3 separate regions of the Homo sapiens genome follow, and regions 2 and 3 are each linked to region 1. The links are contacts of gene promoters, found by promoter capture Hi-C in human tissues and cell types (Jung and others, 2019). All regions are on one chromosome and are shown on one strand. Each heading gives the region's core, a stretch centred on a gene start or on the middle of the fragment in contact. The rest is flanking DNA. Distances are from core to core; before and after follow the strand shown.

The links. Contacts are between HindIII fragments. The study calls those that stand out against the background at their distance.
Region 2: a fragment that was not itself captured here is called in contact with the fragment with the promoter of CD40 in region 1 in 2 of the 25 tissues and cell types used here (dorsolateral prefrontal cortex and lymphoblastoid cells).
Region 3: a contact is called between a fragment that was not itself captured here and the fragment with the promoter of CD40 in region 1, in 1 of the 25 tissues and cell types used here (lymphoblastoid cells).

Annotation. Positions count from the first base shown.
Region 1 is chr20:46,116,046-46,120,011 of GRCh38, forward strand. It overlaps CD40 (CD40 molecule), which reads left to right and starts at 2,269. Exons shown (of 9, transcript NM_001250.6): 1 at 2,269-2,349. The coding sequence starts at 2,299. RefSeq lists a cis regulatory region at 1,451-3,548, enhancers at 1,490-2,306, 2,072-2,131, 3,142-3,491 and a silencer at 2,048-2,267. The HindIII fragment of the contact is 12,179 bases long and covers 1-3,966 here.
Region 2 is chr20:46,456,331-46,460,296 of GRCh38, forward strand. It overlaps the pseudogene ZNF663P. Among named protein-coding and RNA genes, the nearest start is that of ELMO2, 52 kb to the left of the region's middle. RefSeq lists enhancers at 2,308-2,848, 2,849-3,388. The HindIII fragment of the contact is 4,421 bases long and covers 1-3,966 here.
Region 3 is chr20:46,401,901-46,405,866 of GRCh38, forward strand. The region is part of intron 1 of ELMO2 (engulfment and cell motility 2); the gene reads right to left. Among named protein-coding and RNA genes, the nearest start is that of ELMO2, 2.7 kb to the right of the region's middle. RefSeq lists an enhancer at 3,896-3,966. The HindIII fragment of the contact is 5,740 bases long and covers 1-3,966 here.

The sequences.
Region 1 (3,966 bases), core at 1,019-3,518:
CGATCAGATCTGGAGTTTATCAAGAGAATCGCAGCAGTGTAAAGAGTTGCCTGGCACATAGTAGGTGCTCAATAAATCCTGTGGAATGAGAGAGGCTGTTGGGACAGTCCAGATGAAAGATGGCACCCTCTGAATTAGGGCAGTGGCAGAGGTGACAGAAAATAAGGGATGGATCCTAGAGGCAGAATCCACAAGACTTGCAAATGTGCCCTTAACAGCAGAAGCCATGAGAATGGGGTTAGAAGTGTCCTCCTCTTCCATCCTCCCTGATCTGTGAGGTCTGGCCTCTTGTCCTCTTCCAGAAATTGAGAGCTTGGAGGGTCATCACCTCAACCGTTGTCTAGTTCAAGCTCCTAAGTTTTCCTTGGAGAAAAATTTAGGCCTAAGGGAACACAGTCCTTCAGAGGCAGAGGCTGCACCAGAACCCAGGTGTTCCATGCTGCAAAGCAGAGTGTTAACACTGGTTCAAGAACATCTTGAGGGCCAGGTGCGGTGGCTCATGCCTGTAATCTCAGCACTTTGGGAGGCCAAGGCAGGCGGATCACCTGAGGTCAGGAGTTTGAGACCAGCCTGGCCAACGTGGAGAAACCCCGTCTCTACTAAAAATACAAAAATTAGCTGGGCGTGGTGGCGCCAGCCTGTAATCCCAGCTACTCGGGAGGCTGAGGCAGGAGAATTGCTTGAACCCAGGAGGCAGAGGTTGCAGTGAGCCGAGATCATGCCACTGCACTCCAGCCTGGGCAACAGAATGAGACTCTGTCAAAAAAAACCCAAAAACCAAAAACCAAACAAACACCCAAAAAACAAAACGAAACAAAAAACAAAAAAACAAAAGCACGTCTTCAGAGTTCATGAACCCAGGAAATGTAGGCACAAGTGTGTGTGTTTCTGCAAAATGAGAGGGTCCCGAGTTTCCTAACATACTTAAAGTGTTTTATGATGCCACAAAAGGCTGGCCCACTCTTTTTTTTTTTTTGAGATGGAGTTTTGCACTGTCGCCCAGGCTGAAGTGCAGTGATGTAATCATTGCAATCATGGCTCACTGCAACCTTGACTTCTTGAGCTCAAGCGATCCTCCTGCCTCAGCCTCCTGAGTAGCTGGGACTACAGGTGTTTGCCACCATGCCTGGCTAACTTAAAAATTTCTTTATTTTGTAGAGATGGGGGTCTTGCCATGTTGCCAGGCTGGTCTTGAACTCCTGGCCTCAAGCAATCTCCCTTTTTGGCCTTCCAAAGTGTTAGATTACAGGCGTAAGCCACCGCGCCTGGCCCCCACCTTTATTTTTATTTTTATTTATTATTTATTTTTTTTTTTTTTGAGACTGAGTCTTGCTCTGCCTTCGAGGCTGGAGTGCAGTGGCACGATCTCGGCTCATTGCAATCTCTGCCTCTGCGGTTCAAGCGATTCTCCTGCCTCAGCCTCCCGAGTAGCTGGGATTACAGGCGAACGCCACTACATCCGGTTAATTTTTGTATTTTTAGTAGAGACGGAGTTTCACTATGTTGGCCAGGTTGGTCTCGAACTCCTGACCTCAAGTGATCTGCCCGCCTCGGCCTCCTAAAGTGCTGGATTACAGGCGTGAGCCACCGCGCCCGGCCCCACTCTTAATAAATGCCTGTCTCCAGGTGCTGGGTGGGAGGTGGGATGGAATGGAATGAGGTGAGGACGCATGGATGCATGGATGAATGGATGGGAAGTTGAGACGACGCGCCCACACGAGGGAATTTCCTTTGAAAGAGAGCGAAATTCTGAGTTGGGAAACTCTTCCTTGAAACGCCTCCCCATACCCCAGCTGTGGCCTTCCCGTTTTCTGCGTGGTGGTGTGGGGGGAACTTCCTCAGGCCTCTCCGCAGTGGAGCCTCTTTCGGTTCTGCCAGGATACCTAGAGGCAGCGGAGAGCGGGGCAGGGAGGGGAAAACCGTGAGGGTCCCTGTGGCAGGCCCCAGCACCCATGGGATCTCTCTCCGGTCGCAGGAAGCAGGCTAGCTCCTAGCCCGCCTCGGCTTGGCCTTTGTGGGACCTGGGGGCAAAGAAGAAGAGCTGTCTCTGGGACCATGCCTCCTCCCGTACACAGCAAGATGCGTCCCTAAACTCCCGGGGGAATTAGACTTGTGGGAATGTTCTGGGGAAACTCCTGCGCGGTGAATTGCTGGGGGCTCCGCCCCCCCGATAGGTGGACCGCGATTGGTCTTTGAAGACCCCGCCCCTTTCCTGGGCGGGGCCAAGGCTGGGGCAGGGGAGTCAGCAGAGGCCTCGCTCGGGCGCCCAGTGGTCCTGCCGCCTGGTCTCACCTCGCTATGGTTCGTCTGCCTCTGCAGTGCGTCCTCTGGGGCTGCTTGCTGACCGCTGTGAGTTGTTTTTGCCCCGACCAGACGGGAGTTGGGAGTGGGGAATGAGAAGGAAAGGGAAGGAAGACTTCGGGGAAGAGGCCTTCCTGGCTGATTTTTGTGGGGGCAGGAGGGTGGGTGGGAGCTGGGCAAGGTGCCCCCGCTCCTGGCTGAATGGGGTGGGCTGCCTCTCTCTTCTCCCGGGCTGGGGTCCCGGGAGCGGCCTACAGGGGCCGCTCAGGGAAGGCACTGGCTGCCCAAGCGTGCCTAGACGGCCTGGACGGGTTTAGGGAGCCTCAGAGGCTGGCCACACAGAGACTGGTAGGGGGTTCAGAGGGCGGGAAGTGAGGCGGACCAAGGGAAGGGGCGGGTCTGGCCCGTTTCCTGTCCCCTTCTTATTGTGGACAGATGCCAGCCTCTGTAAGTAGTTATCATCTCCTTGCCAGCTGGGGCTGCCTTCTTCCAGGGCATCTTGTGGGAACAAGAGATGGGTGCAGAGGCCCAGGTACTTTTGTGAGAAGGCAAGGAGCTTTTAACATCGCCTTCCACCCCGAACCGTATCTTGGGTGTTCCAACCTAGGAGGAATCCCCAGGGCTTTGCCTTTTTCTCCTGAATTTAAGATGACATAGGAGACCCCTGGGGAGATGAACAGTTTATGGGACACAATAAAGGGTTAGGAGACCAGAGTTCTGGTTGGCTCTGACAGGGCTGGTGATCAGAGGGCTGGAGAAACCAGGGGTTTCTCCAGGCACCAGAGGGGCTCAGAGCCAACCAAGCATATCTCCGGGATTTTCAGAAGCCTACACTTGACTCACTTTTTGTTTAAATGTATTTTTGTAGTTCCTCATTCTGGAGGCTGGGAATCCCCCAAGTACCTGGCTCCTTCATCCCAGCCCCTCTGGCCTCCCCCTACTTTAGAGGGCTGTAGATTCCTGCCTGAAGCCTGGGCAGGAATGACCCATGGTATCAAGGAAAGCAAGGGAAGCAGCAAGGGAAGAGAGGGAGTGGGGAGGCTGCTTTGGTCCCACAGCTTTCACTTTCACCTGAAGCAATGGCTCTTAGGGAACAGGGAGGCAGGGGGAGGGCGGAGCTGGAAAGAGGTAAAGGGGGGCCCTTGTGGTAGGAGTGGAGAAAGAGCCAGAGGAGGTGGGGTGAAGGGTGTGATCCAGGCTTCTCAAGAGCAGAGTTTGCCCTCATAACTCCCAACTTTGGCTCCAGGTAGAGGCTGGGCTGTGACAACAATGTCAGAAGCTATCTATTGAGGGCTTCTTGTGTGTCAGGCTCTGAGCCAAACACTGCCTGTTTTCTTTGTCTGATTTCTCACAACTCCCCCATTATACAGATGGGCAAATTGAGGCTCAGAAAGGGGGATTGTCTTGCCAAAGGTCTCATAGCTAGCTAATGGAAGAACCTGGTTGTGAATCTACATCTGCATGATTCCCGAGCCTGCCTCTCAGATAGTGAGAGTCTCCAAGCTCTGGTCCTGAGCTGTTTTGTGGCAGAAGGACCAGAACTATGGGGAGTGAGAACTGGAGATTGACAGACTTTTAGGGGAGCGTTTTATTTCTCATGTGTTTGAAGATGGTATCAAGGACTTTCCTATCTTTGGGAGTGTGGGAGCTCCACGTTCACAGGAT
Region 2 (3,966 bases), core at 796-3,295, 340 kb after region 1:
TGAGTTCTCCGATGTACTGTGAGGGCTGATTTCTGGCAGAAGGACTTTCCACGTTCATTACATTCATATGGTTTTTCTCCTGTGTGAGTTCTCTGATGTTCAGCGTAGTTGGACTTCACAAAGAAGGATTTTTCACATTCATTACATTCATAGGGTTTTCTTCCGTGTGTGTGTGCTCTGATGCTATCTGAGATCTGTTTTCTTACAGAAGCTTTCTCCACATTTATTGCAGTCATAGGTTTTCTCTTTTTTTGTGAGCTCTCTGGCTTTGTGTAAGTTGTGACTTCCTACTTGAGGCACCCCACTTTCATTACGCCCATTATTTTTTTTCCCCAAGTGCCTTCTCTGATGTTGAGTGTGTTTCAACTTCTCAAAGAAAGGTTTCTCACATTTATTACCTTTACAGTTTTTCTCTCTTGTTTTAATCTTGTTTTAATTCTCTGATTGGGAGTGAGGCAAGATTCCTTCAAGACTCTTTCACTATCATTACACTTGCTGGGTTTTCCTGTTGTGTGGGTTCTCTGATGTTGAGTAAGGCATGCTTTTTCATGAAAGAATTTCCCACATTTCTTACAATCATAGACTTTCTCTCCTGCATGAGTTCTCTCATTTTGAGTATGGTATAACTTCTTCAAGGCTTTCTCATTTTCTTTACACTCATCAGGTTTTTCTCCTGTGTACATTCTTTGATGTTGGGTAAAGTTTGATTTCTTGCTAAATTTTCCAAATTCATTACATTCATAGTGTTTCTCTCCTTCATAGTGTTGCCCGGGCAACACTGCGAGACTCCGTCTCAAAAAAAAAATACTGACAATACTTGTATAGTAGTTACTATATAACAGGACTTGTTCTAAGTACTTTGTATGTCTTCCTTCATTTAACCTTTAAAATAAAGCCAAGCATAGCTACTATTATGACTTCCATTTCATAGAATAGGAAAGCGAGGGGAAGACTGAGCAATGTGGTGGAGCTGGGCTTTGAACCCGGGCAATCCGGCCCCAGATCCATTCACTTGAGCACTGTGTTAATATTTTTCACTTTTAAAATGAGGCACAATTACATAACCGCTGAAAAGCTTCCCCGTACTCCTATAAAGTCAAGAGTAGGTAGTGGGTAGCATGTCCCTAAATTCCAGATGTGGAGATGGGTGGGGTTTGAGGGCTCTGCAGAAATCTAGGAAGAGGGGTTGAAGAATTAGGGGCATGGGAGGAGTTTCCGAGAGGAGTGGTGATAGTATCTTCCCCGTCATGCGCACCAGGTACTCACCTGGGAGTTCCTCCTCCCCCGCAGCCGGCCTCCTGCCCACCATCCTCAGTCCAGCTCGCCATCCTCAGCCCAGCTCACCTCTGTCCTGTGACAGCTGGCCCACACCTTCGTTGACCGACGGTTCTTGGCAACCTCCGACATGATGAGTTATTCAGGGCGGAAGAATCGGGAATTGCTTCAAGAGCAAGCGCTTACAGACTTGCCTGTTTTCCCAGACGTCCTTGGTGCAGCTGTGTGCGTTTTATCAGAGGGTGGGAACCTCCCAGGCGAGATTCCTGCTTCTGGCGTCCCCTCCTCACAGGAGCAGGGTGACCCTGGCTGGGGAGAGAGGGAATAAATTCAGATAACTGGGACCTTCAGCCGGTTCCAACTCTCTCTTGGAGTTCACTATCTCCTACAACAGAGGCTTTCAGTGTGGACCCTGGACTGGCAGCATCAGCATCACCTGGGAACTAAATAGAAAGGCAAATCCTTGGGGCTCTCCCCAGACCTACTGAATCAGAAACGCTGGGTGTGGGGCCCAGTCGTGGGGTGGGGTTTAACAGGCCCTTCAGGTGATACGGATGCATGCGAGTTTGAAAACCACTGCCTGCAAATCTCCCTTGGGAACCTGAGAACTGTGGAGGGCACAAACAGATGGACCTTGAGTTTCCCAGAGGCCTCAGTTACACAGTACCCCCAGGGTTCTGCAGAGATACCAAGAAATCTCCAAGATCCTTAAGGGAAGGCTCAGTCCTTACACACTCCGGTTGGCCCATAGAGACATGCCACTCTGCTAAGTGCTGTGAAGCATGCGATTTGGAAATAAAACTGAGGCTTGCATCCCAGATCCTTCACTTGCTAGCCATGTGACTTCACCTCCAGAGTCTTGGTTTTCTTCTCAGTTAAAATAGGGTGGGTAACACCGACTTTACAGGGGGTCTTTGAGAATCAAATGACACACCGAGTGAAAAGAACAGTGGGAAAGGCAGGCCGCATTTCCAGAGTGCTTAGAAAATGTCAGGACCTGTGCGGAGTGCTTTAGAGGTGCTCTCTTATTCAACACTCAGAACGACCCTGAAGCAGGTTTTAGAAATAACTTCATTTTACAGATGGGGAAATTGAGTCTTAGAGTTTAGGTTCATCACTGTGTTCATGGAGAGCCAGTGACAGACCTAGGATGTGAACTCGTCTTACTTTCAAACTCAGGCTCTGCATCTGCAATAAGGCTTGCTAAGGTAGGAATGATAGTACAGCATAAAGTAAACTTTGTAAGAATTGTTCTCATCCCCGCTGGAGTAGTGGGTTTGACCAGCTGATGAATGGTTGCCCAGGGCACCTGCGAGTTAGAGGAGCTTCTGGAAACAGCTCTTTTAACATGTGAATGCCTTTTCCCGGAGCCCTTTATTCTGATCAGGAAACCTGTTCCCTCCGCCCTTATCTTCTTCGTGGCACCTGCAGATCCGCAGCGGACCTCCTCCTCCGTCACTTGCTTTCTAGACGGACAGATGCAGGGCAGACTCGGGAACAAGTGCCAGAGGGTCTCAACCCGCGTGGGATTTGCGCAAGTTTTTGCTTCCACAGGCTGTGAACACAAACCTACCCCAAGCCCCGCAAAGCAACCCTCCAAGCTAGGCTCTCACCTGCGGAGCGCATCGTTAGTGCAGCACCTGGTCGCTGAGTTACGCGTAGACGCGGAGGCTCCACGCTGATCAGAGACAGGAGTAAGGAACAAGGAGGAAGTCTGCACATGCGCAGACGGGGCTGCCAAAGACCGGTTCCCGGGGCCCTGCCGGGGCGATCCATCAACTTCCAGACTCCGTTTCCCACAAGTCTCCGCGCCCCCTTCCTTAAGGAACGTCTGAAGAGTTTCTGGCTTACTTGGCAAGTTGGGGGATTTGTGGTCCAAAGTCATCTTTACTTTTATTTGGAGCCCTAGTTCCTCATAACCCACCAGGTAGGAGATTTGCATGCACTCCACTTACAATCAGTGTCACTTCAGAGGCAAAGCTACCGTGAGAAGGAAAGGAGTTTGTCAACTGCACATCTGAAAACAAAATTAATGAAAGCCAAGCAACATAGTGGAATATTTATAGAAAATAAAGCAAAGCAATAAGTAAAAGATTAATAACCACGACCAGAAAGCTTTTTCCGCAGAATGCAAATATTACCTCCACCTGAAACTGGATTTCAAAAGTAAAAGCCTCACATAATGGCAAATACACATAAATCAAAGGAAAATTTCATCTAAGAAGCACACTCAGAATCTCCCCTTCCAGAGATGACCATGGCCAATGTTAGATGATATTGAAATGGGACCCCAAAATCTCAATGAGTGATTTGGGTCTTTTCATTGAACATGTTGTTAATAATTTTCTTACCCTTTTACACTTTTTATTTTGAAATATTTTAAACTTACAGAAAAGTTTCAGGGATGATTCATTCGGATCATCTGTAAACCATTTACTCAGATTCATCAACAGCAAATATCTGCCTCCCCACCTTCTGTTTCTCTCCTCATCCTCATCACCATTTGAGGGTAAGTTACAAATATGAACTGTCACCCCTAAAACTTTAGCATATATCACCTAGAACAAGGGCTTTTTAAAAACATAACCACAATTATCAAAAATTTTTAAACATAACTACAATTATCAAAATTGTTTAAACATAACCACAATTATCAAATCCAAGAACTTAAACAGATATAATATTATTATC
Region 3 (3,966 bases), core at 872-3,371, 290 kb after region 1:
TGATCCTACTGATTTATAATTCTCTATGTGCAGTCTCTTCCCTGGCTACGATAGGTGTGATGTGCATACCAGCAGCGGCAGTATCCCTGGGAGCCCAGACCCACCCAATCAGAATCTGCCTTCAAACAAGATCCTGAGGTGGTTCAAGTGCATGTTCAAGTCTGGGACATAGGCTCTAGATCAGATAAGGTCCGAGAAACAGTGGTTCTCAACTCTGGTTGTGCACCATCAACACACACCCCAGGTCATTTATAAACTCTCAGATGCTCAGGGTTGACCCACAGCTCCAGGAGAGTTGACAACCTGAGGGCAAGGACTCATGAAGCCTAAGTCTATTCCCCCATCTACTCTTCCCCCAGTTTGCAGCACACTGCCTGCCACATAGCTGTGTCCACAGAATTCCACAGGAAAATTCCCTCCAGGGTGCCTCCAGACCTAAATGCCTTCAGAAGAGAGTGAAAACACTACTGACTGAGGATTATTAATTGCCTAGAACTTTCCAAATCCCTAACCACAATGACTGAAGAGATGAATTTACAAAAAGTCAGTGTTTACAAACCACTTACCTCAGTTTTTGGAAATGAGAGGAAACAGAAACTGAGATGGAAAATACAGATGAACTTCAGAATTAAACTTTAGAAAACCGTGATTGCACAAGGAGATGGAGCTTGGGTAGGGAGGGAGTGTGGTGTGCTGGGAAGAGTCCTGGGTTACAACTAAAATCTCGGGCTGTGAACTCCTTCAATACTGACCATAACAGCACAGCATTGTTCTCAGTGTAAAATCAGGCCAAGCCCTTTCATTACATAAATAAGGGAACTGAAGTCCAGAGAAGCTGGCAAGGCCATGCCACCAGTTAGGGACAAAAGAAGGCCTAGGCCCCCACTTCTGGTTTAGTCCTCCTCCTGCAGCACAGCTTTGCCACAAACACAAGCCTTTCTGGACCTCAGGTCCTGATCTACATCGGGGGCTGGACTAGATGTTTTTGAGCTTTCTTCCAACTTTGGCCTTCTAGTGAGGAAGTGTAGCTTAACAAGTTAGGAGCTGTGTTCTGGAGTGGGAAAGGCCTGAACTTGGATCTTAGCACTAACGATTTTCTTACCTGTAAAATGGGGATTAGCATCAACTCTACCCCGTAAAGCTGTTGTGAGCATCAAGTGGGATAATAAAGCACTAAGCATAATAGCAGAATTCTAACCGTGTGAACCTGAAGAAACTGCAAAAGCTCTGAAACCACGTTTCCCCAACACAGTAAGCCCTACCTGCTAGGCAGGTATGTTGTGTATTGTTGACAAAATAAGAGAGCATATGTGAAGGCAGTCCGGGAGGAAAGTCAATACAAAAGGCAAAGCATTTGTTGGTGTTCCACTATTATTATTACTATTTCCCAGTGGAAGAACTTTGGAAAATGTTATGATCAGTTCCAAAGCAGCAGCTAATACAATGCCTGGCAAATAAGAAGTGCTCAACAAATATTTTCTAGTGACTCACATGAAACCAGCATAGCATGCCTAATAGGGTTATAAATTCAAATGTCTTGGGCAGCCAAGCAGGTAAGTAAATAAAACAAGCAGCCTCCATGTAGGGTCTGTAACACTGCAAAGTACCACCTTGCCTAGAGGAGTTTAAATCCAACATTTTTAAAAACACATCATGCAGCTTGGCCAAGACAGCCACTTTGCAGCCTCCAGCCCATACTGATTCTGGCTCTTCATTACACCTCATGATGCCTTGCATACCATCTAGTCATTTTATGTGATCCAGTCTTGTCTTTCCAAGTATACCTGAAGCATCCTGAAGATGAAGGCTATGACATACACCGCCCAATCACCAAAAATGGCTTACAACAGTGCTGGTCACGTGGTAGATACTCAGTGAGCAATTGCTGAACTGGGGCTGTAGGCCGGGCGCCGTGGCTCACGCCTGTAATCTCAGAACTTTGGGAGGCTGAGGTGGGCGGGTCACTTGAGATCAGGAGTTCAATACCAGCCTGGCCAACATGGTGAAACCCCGTCTCTACTAAAAATACAAAAATCAGCCGGGCACGGTGGCAGGCACCTGTAATCCCAGCCACTCAGGAGGCTGAGGCACAAGAATCGCTTGAACGTGGGAGGTGGAGGTTGCAGTTAGCCGAGATGGCACCATTGCACTCCAGCCTGGGCGACAAGAGTAAAACTCCATCTCAAAAAAAAAATAGAAAAGCCAGGCTATAAACTCAAGCCTAGTATTCTCAGCACCTCTGAGATGCTGCATGGTATGTGTTTTTTTCTATCCAGGTCCTGGGACCAGACTTAGTCCAGGCTGGGCCGAGGTATGGTGACCAGGTCAAAGGACTTGCCTTGCAGGGTTTTCTTCAACTGCATCAAATATGCTTCTTGCTGAGCCACCTTGGCAGGTGGTACTGCTACATCTGGACACATTATCTGAGCACAGAACAAGCTAGAATATGCTGTACACTGAAGTTTTTAAAGAAGTTTGGTCCTGACTTCCTGTACCCTCAAACTTCCTTTGCACCTCCTAGAGTCCACATCAGATATATAGAAAGACCAGACTGAAGATGAACAGATAGAGGTCCTAATCTCACCTCCTCCACTTACAAACTCTAGAATTATCCCCGGCAGGCAACCTCTTTTAGAAGCTTCACTATCGATATCAGTAAAGTGCAGATAACAACAGTTATCTCAAAAGACTCTAGAGGGTATACAAAGTGTGTGACACTGTACAGCCCAATACCACAATCCCTGGCCATAGGTGGTTACTAAGCACTTGAAAAGTGGCACAGGCTGCCCTCTGTGTAAAATACAAACCAGGTTTCAAAAACTTAGTACAAAAAACAAGAACGTAAAATATCCCATTAATAATGTTTTAATATTGATTATGTTATAATAATATAATTTTGGAATATATTGTGTTAAATATATTACTAAAATAATTTCAGCTGTTCCATTTTTTAATGTGGCTACTAGAAAATTTAAAATTATATCTATGGCTCACATTACATTTCTATTAGACAGCAGCATCACTCTAGCATAGAGCCTGGCACACAAAAAGCATTCCAAATGTCAGTTTCATTCCCCTGCAGGTAGGACATCAGTGACCACGATTCACATCCCCTTCCTCTTGCCAAATTCAAACCCTGCATCTATTTATTTGGTAAATATTTATATTGCCTGGCCCTGTGTGAGATGCTAGAGATACTACATGAAGCAAAACCGACACTATCTTCTTCGTGGACCTTACAATCTGGTGGGATGGACAGAGAAATATCAATACTTTTGTAAATAAATGTAAAATTGCAGTTGTGCAAGTGTTGTTAAGGACAAGTACCCAGGGTGATAAACGTGGGGTACTGGTCGAAAAGTCAGGGACAGGGATGCCTCCCCTGCAGAAGTGATGCTTAAGCGGAGATCTGAAGGATGAAGAAGAGTTTACAAGACTAAGCCAGGGGAGGAAGAGCAGACCAGGGAGGAGGAATACTAAATAAAAGGCCCCAAGGAAGGCAGGAGCTTGGGATGTAGAAGGAACAGAAAGAGGCCAGTGTGTGGAGAGCACTGAGCAAGCGGACGGACGAGTAGACAGACTTGGGAGAGGTCAGCGGGACCGGATCTCCAGGGCCTGGGTGAGGTTCTGGATCTGACCCTACAAAGGGGTGGGACGCCGGGCCAGTTTCATGCCCTAAGCATCCAGATCTGCTCTGCATTTCTCGGCTGGGCGCGGTGGCTCACGCCTGTAATCCCAGCACTCTGGGAGGCCGAGACGGGCGGATCACTTGAGGTCAGGAGTTCGAGACCAGCCTAACACGGTGAAACCCCGTCTCTACTAAAAATACAAAAATTAGCTGGGCGTGGTGGCAGGCGCCCGTAATCCCAGCTACTTGGGAGGCTGAGGCAGGAGAATAGCTGGAACCTGGGAGGCGGAGGTTGCTGTGAGCCGAGATCGCGCCATTGCACTCCAGCCTGGGCGGCA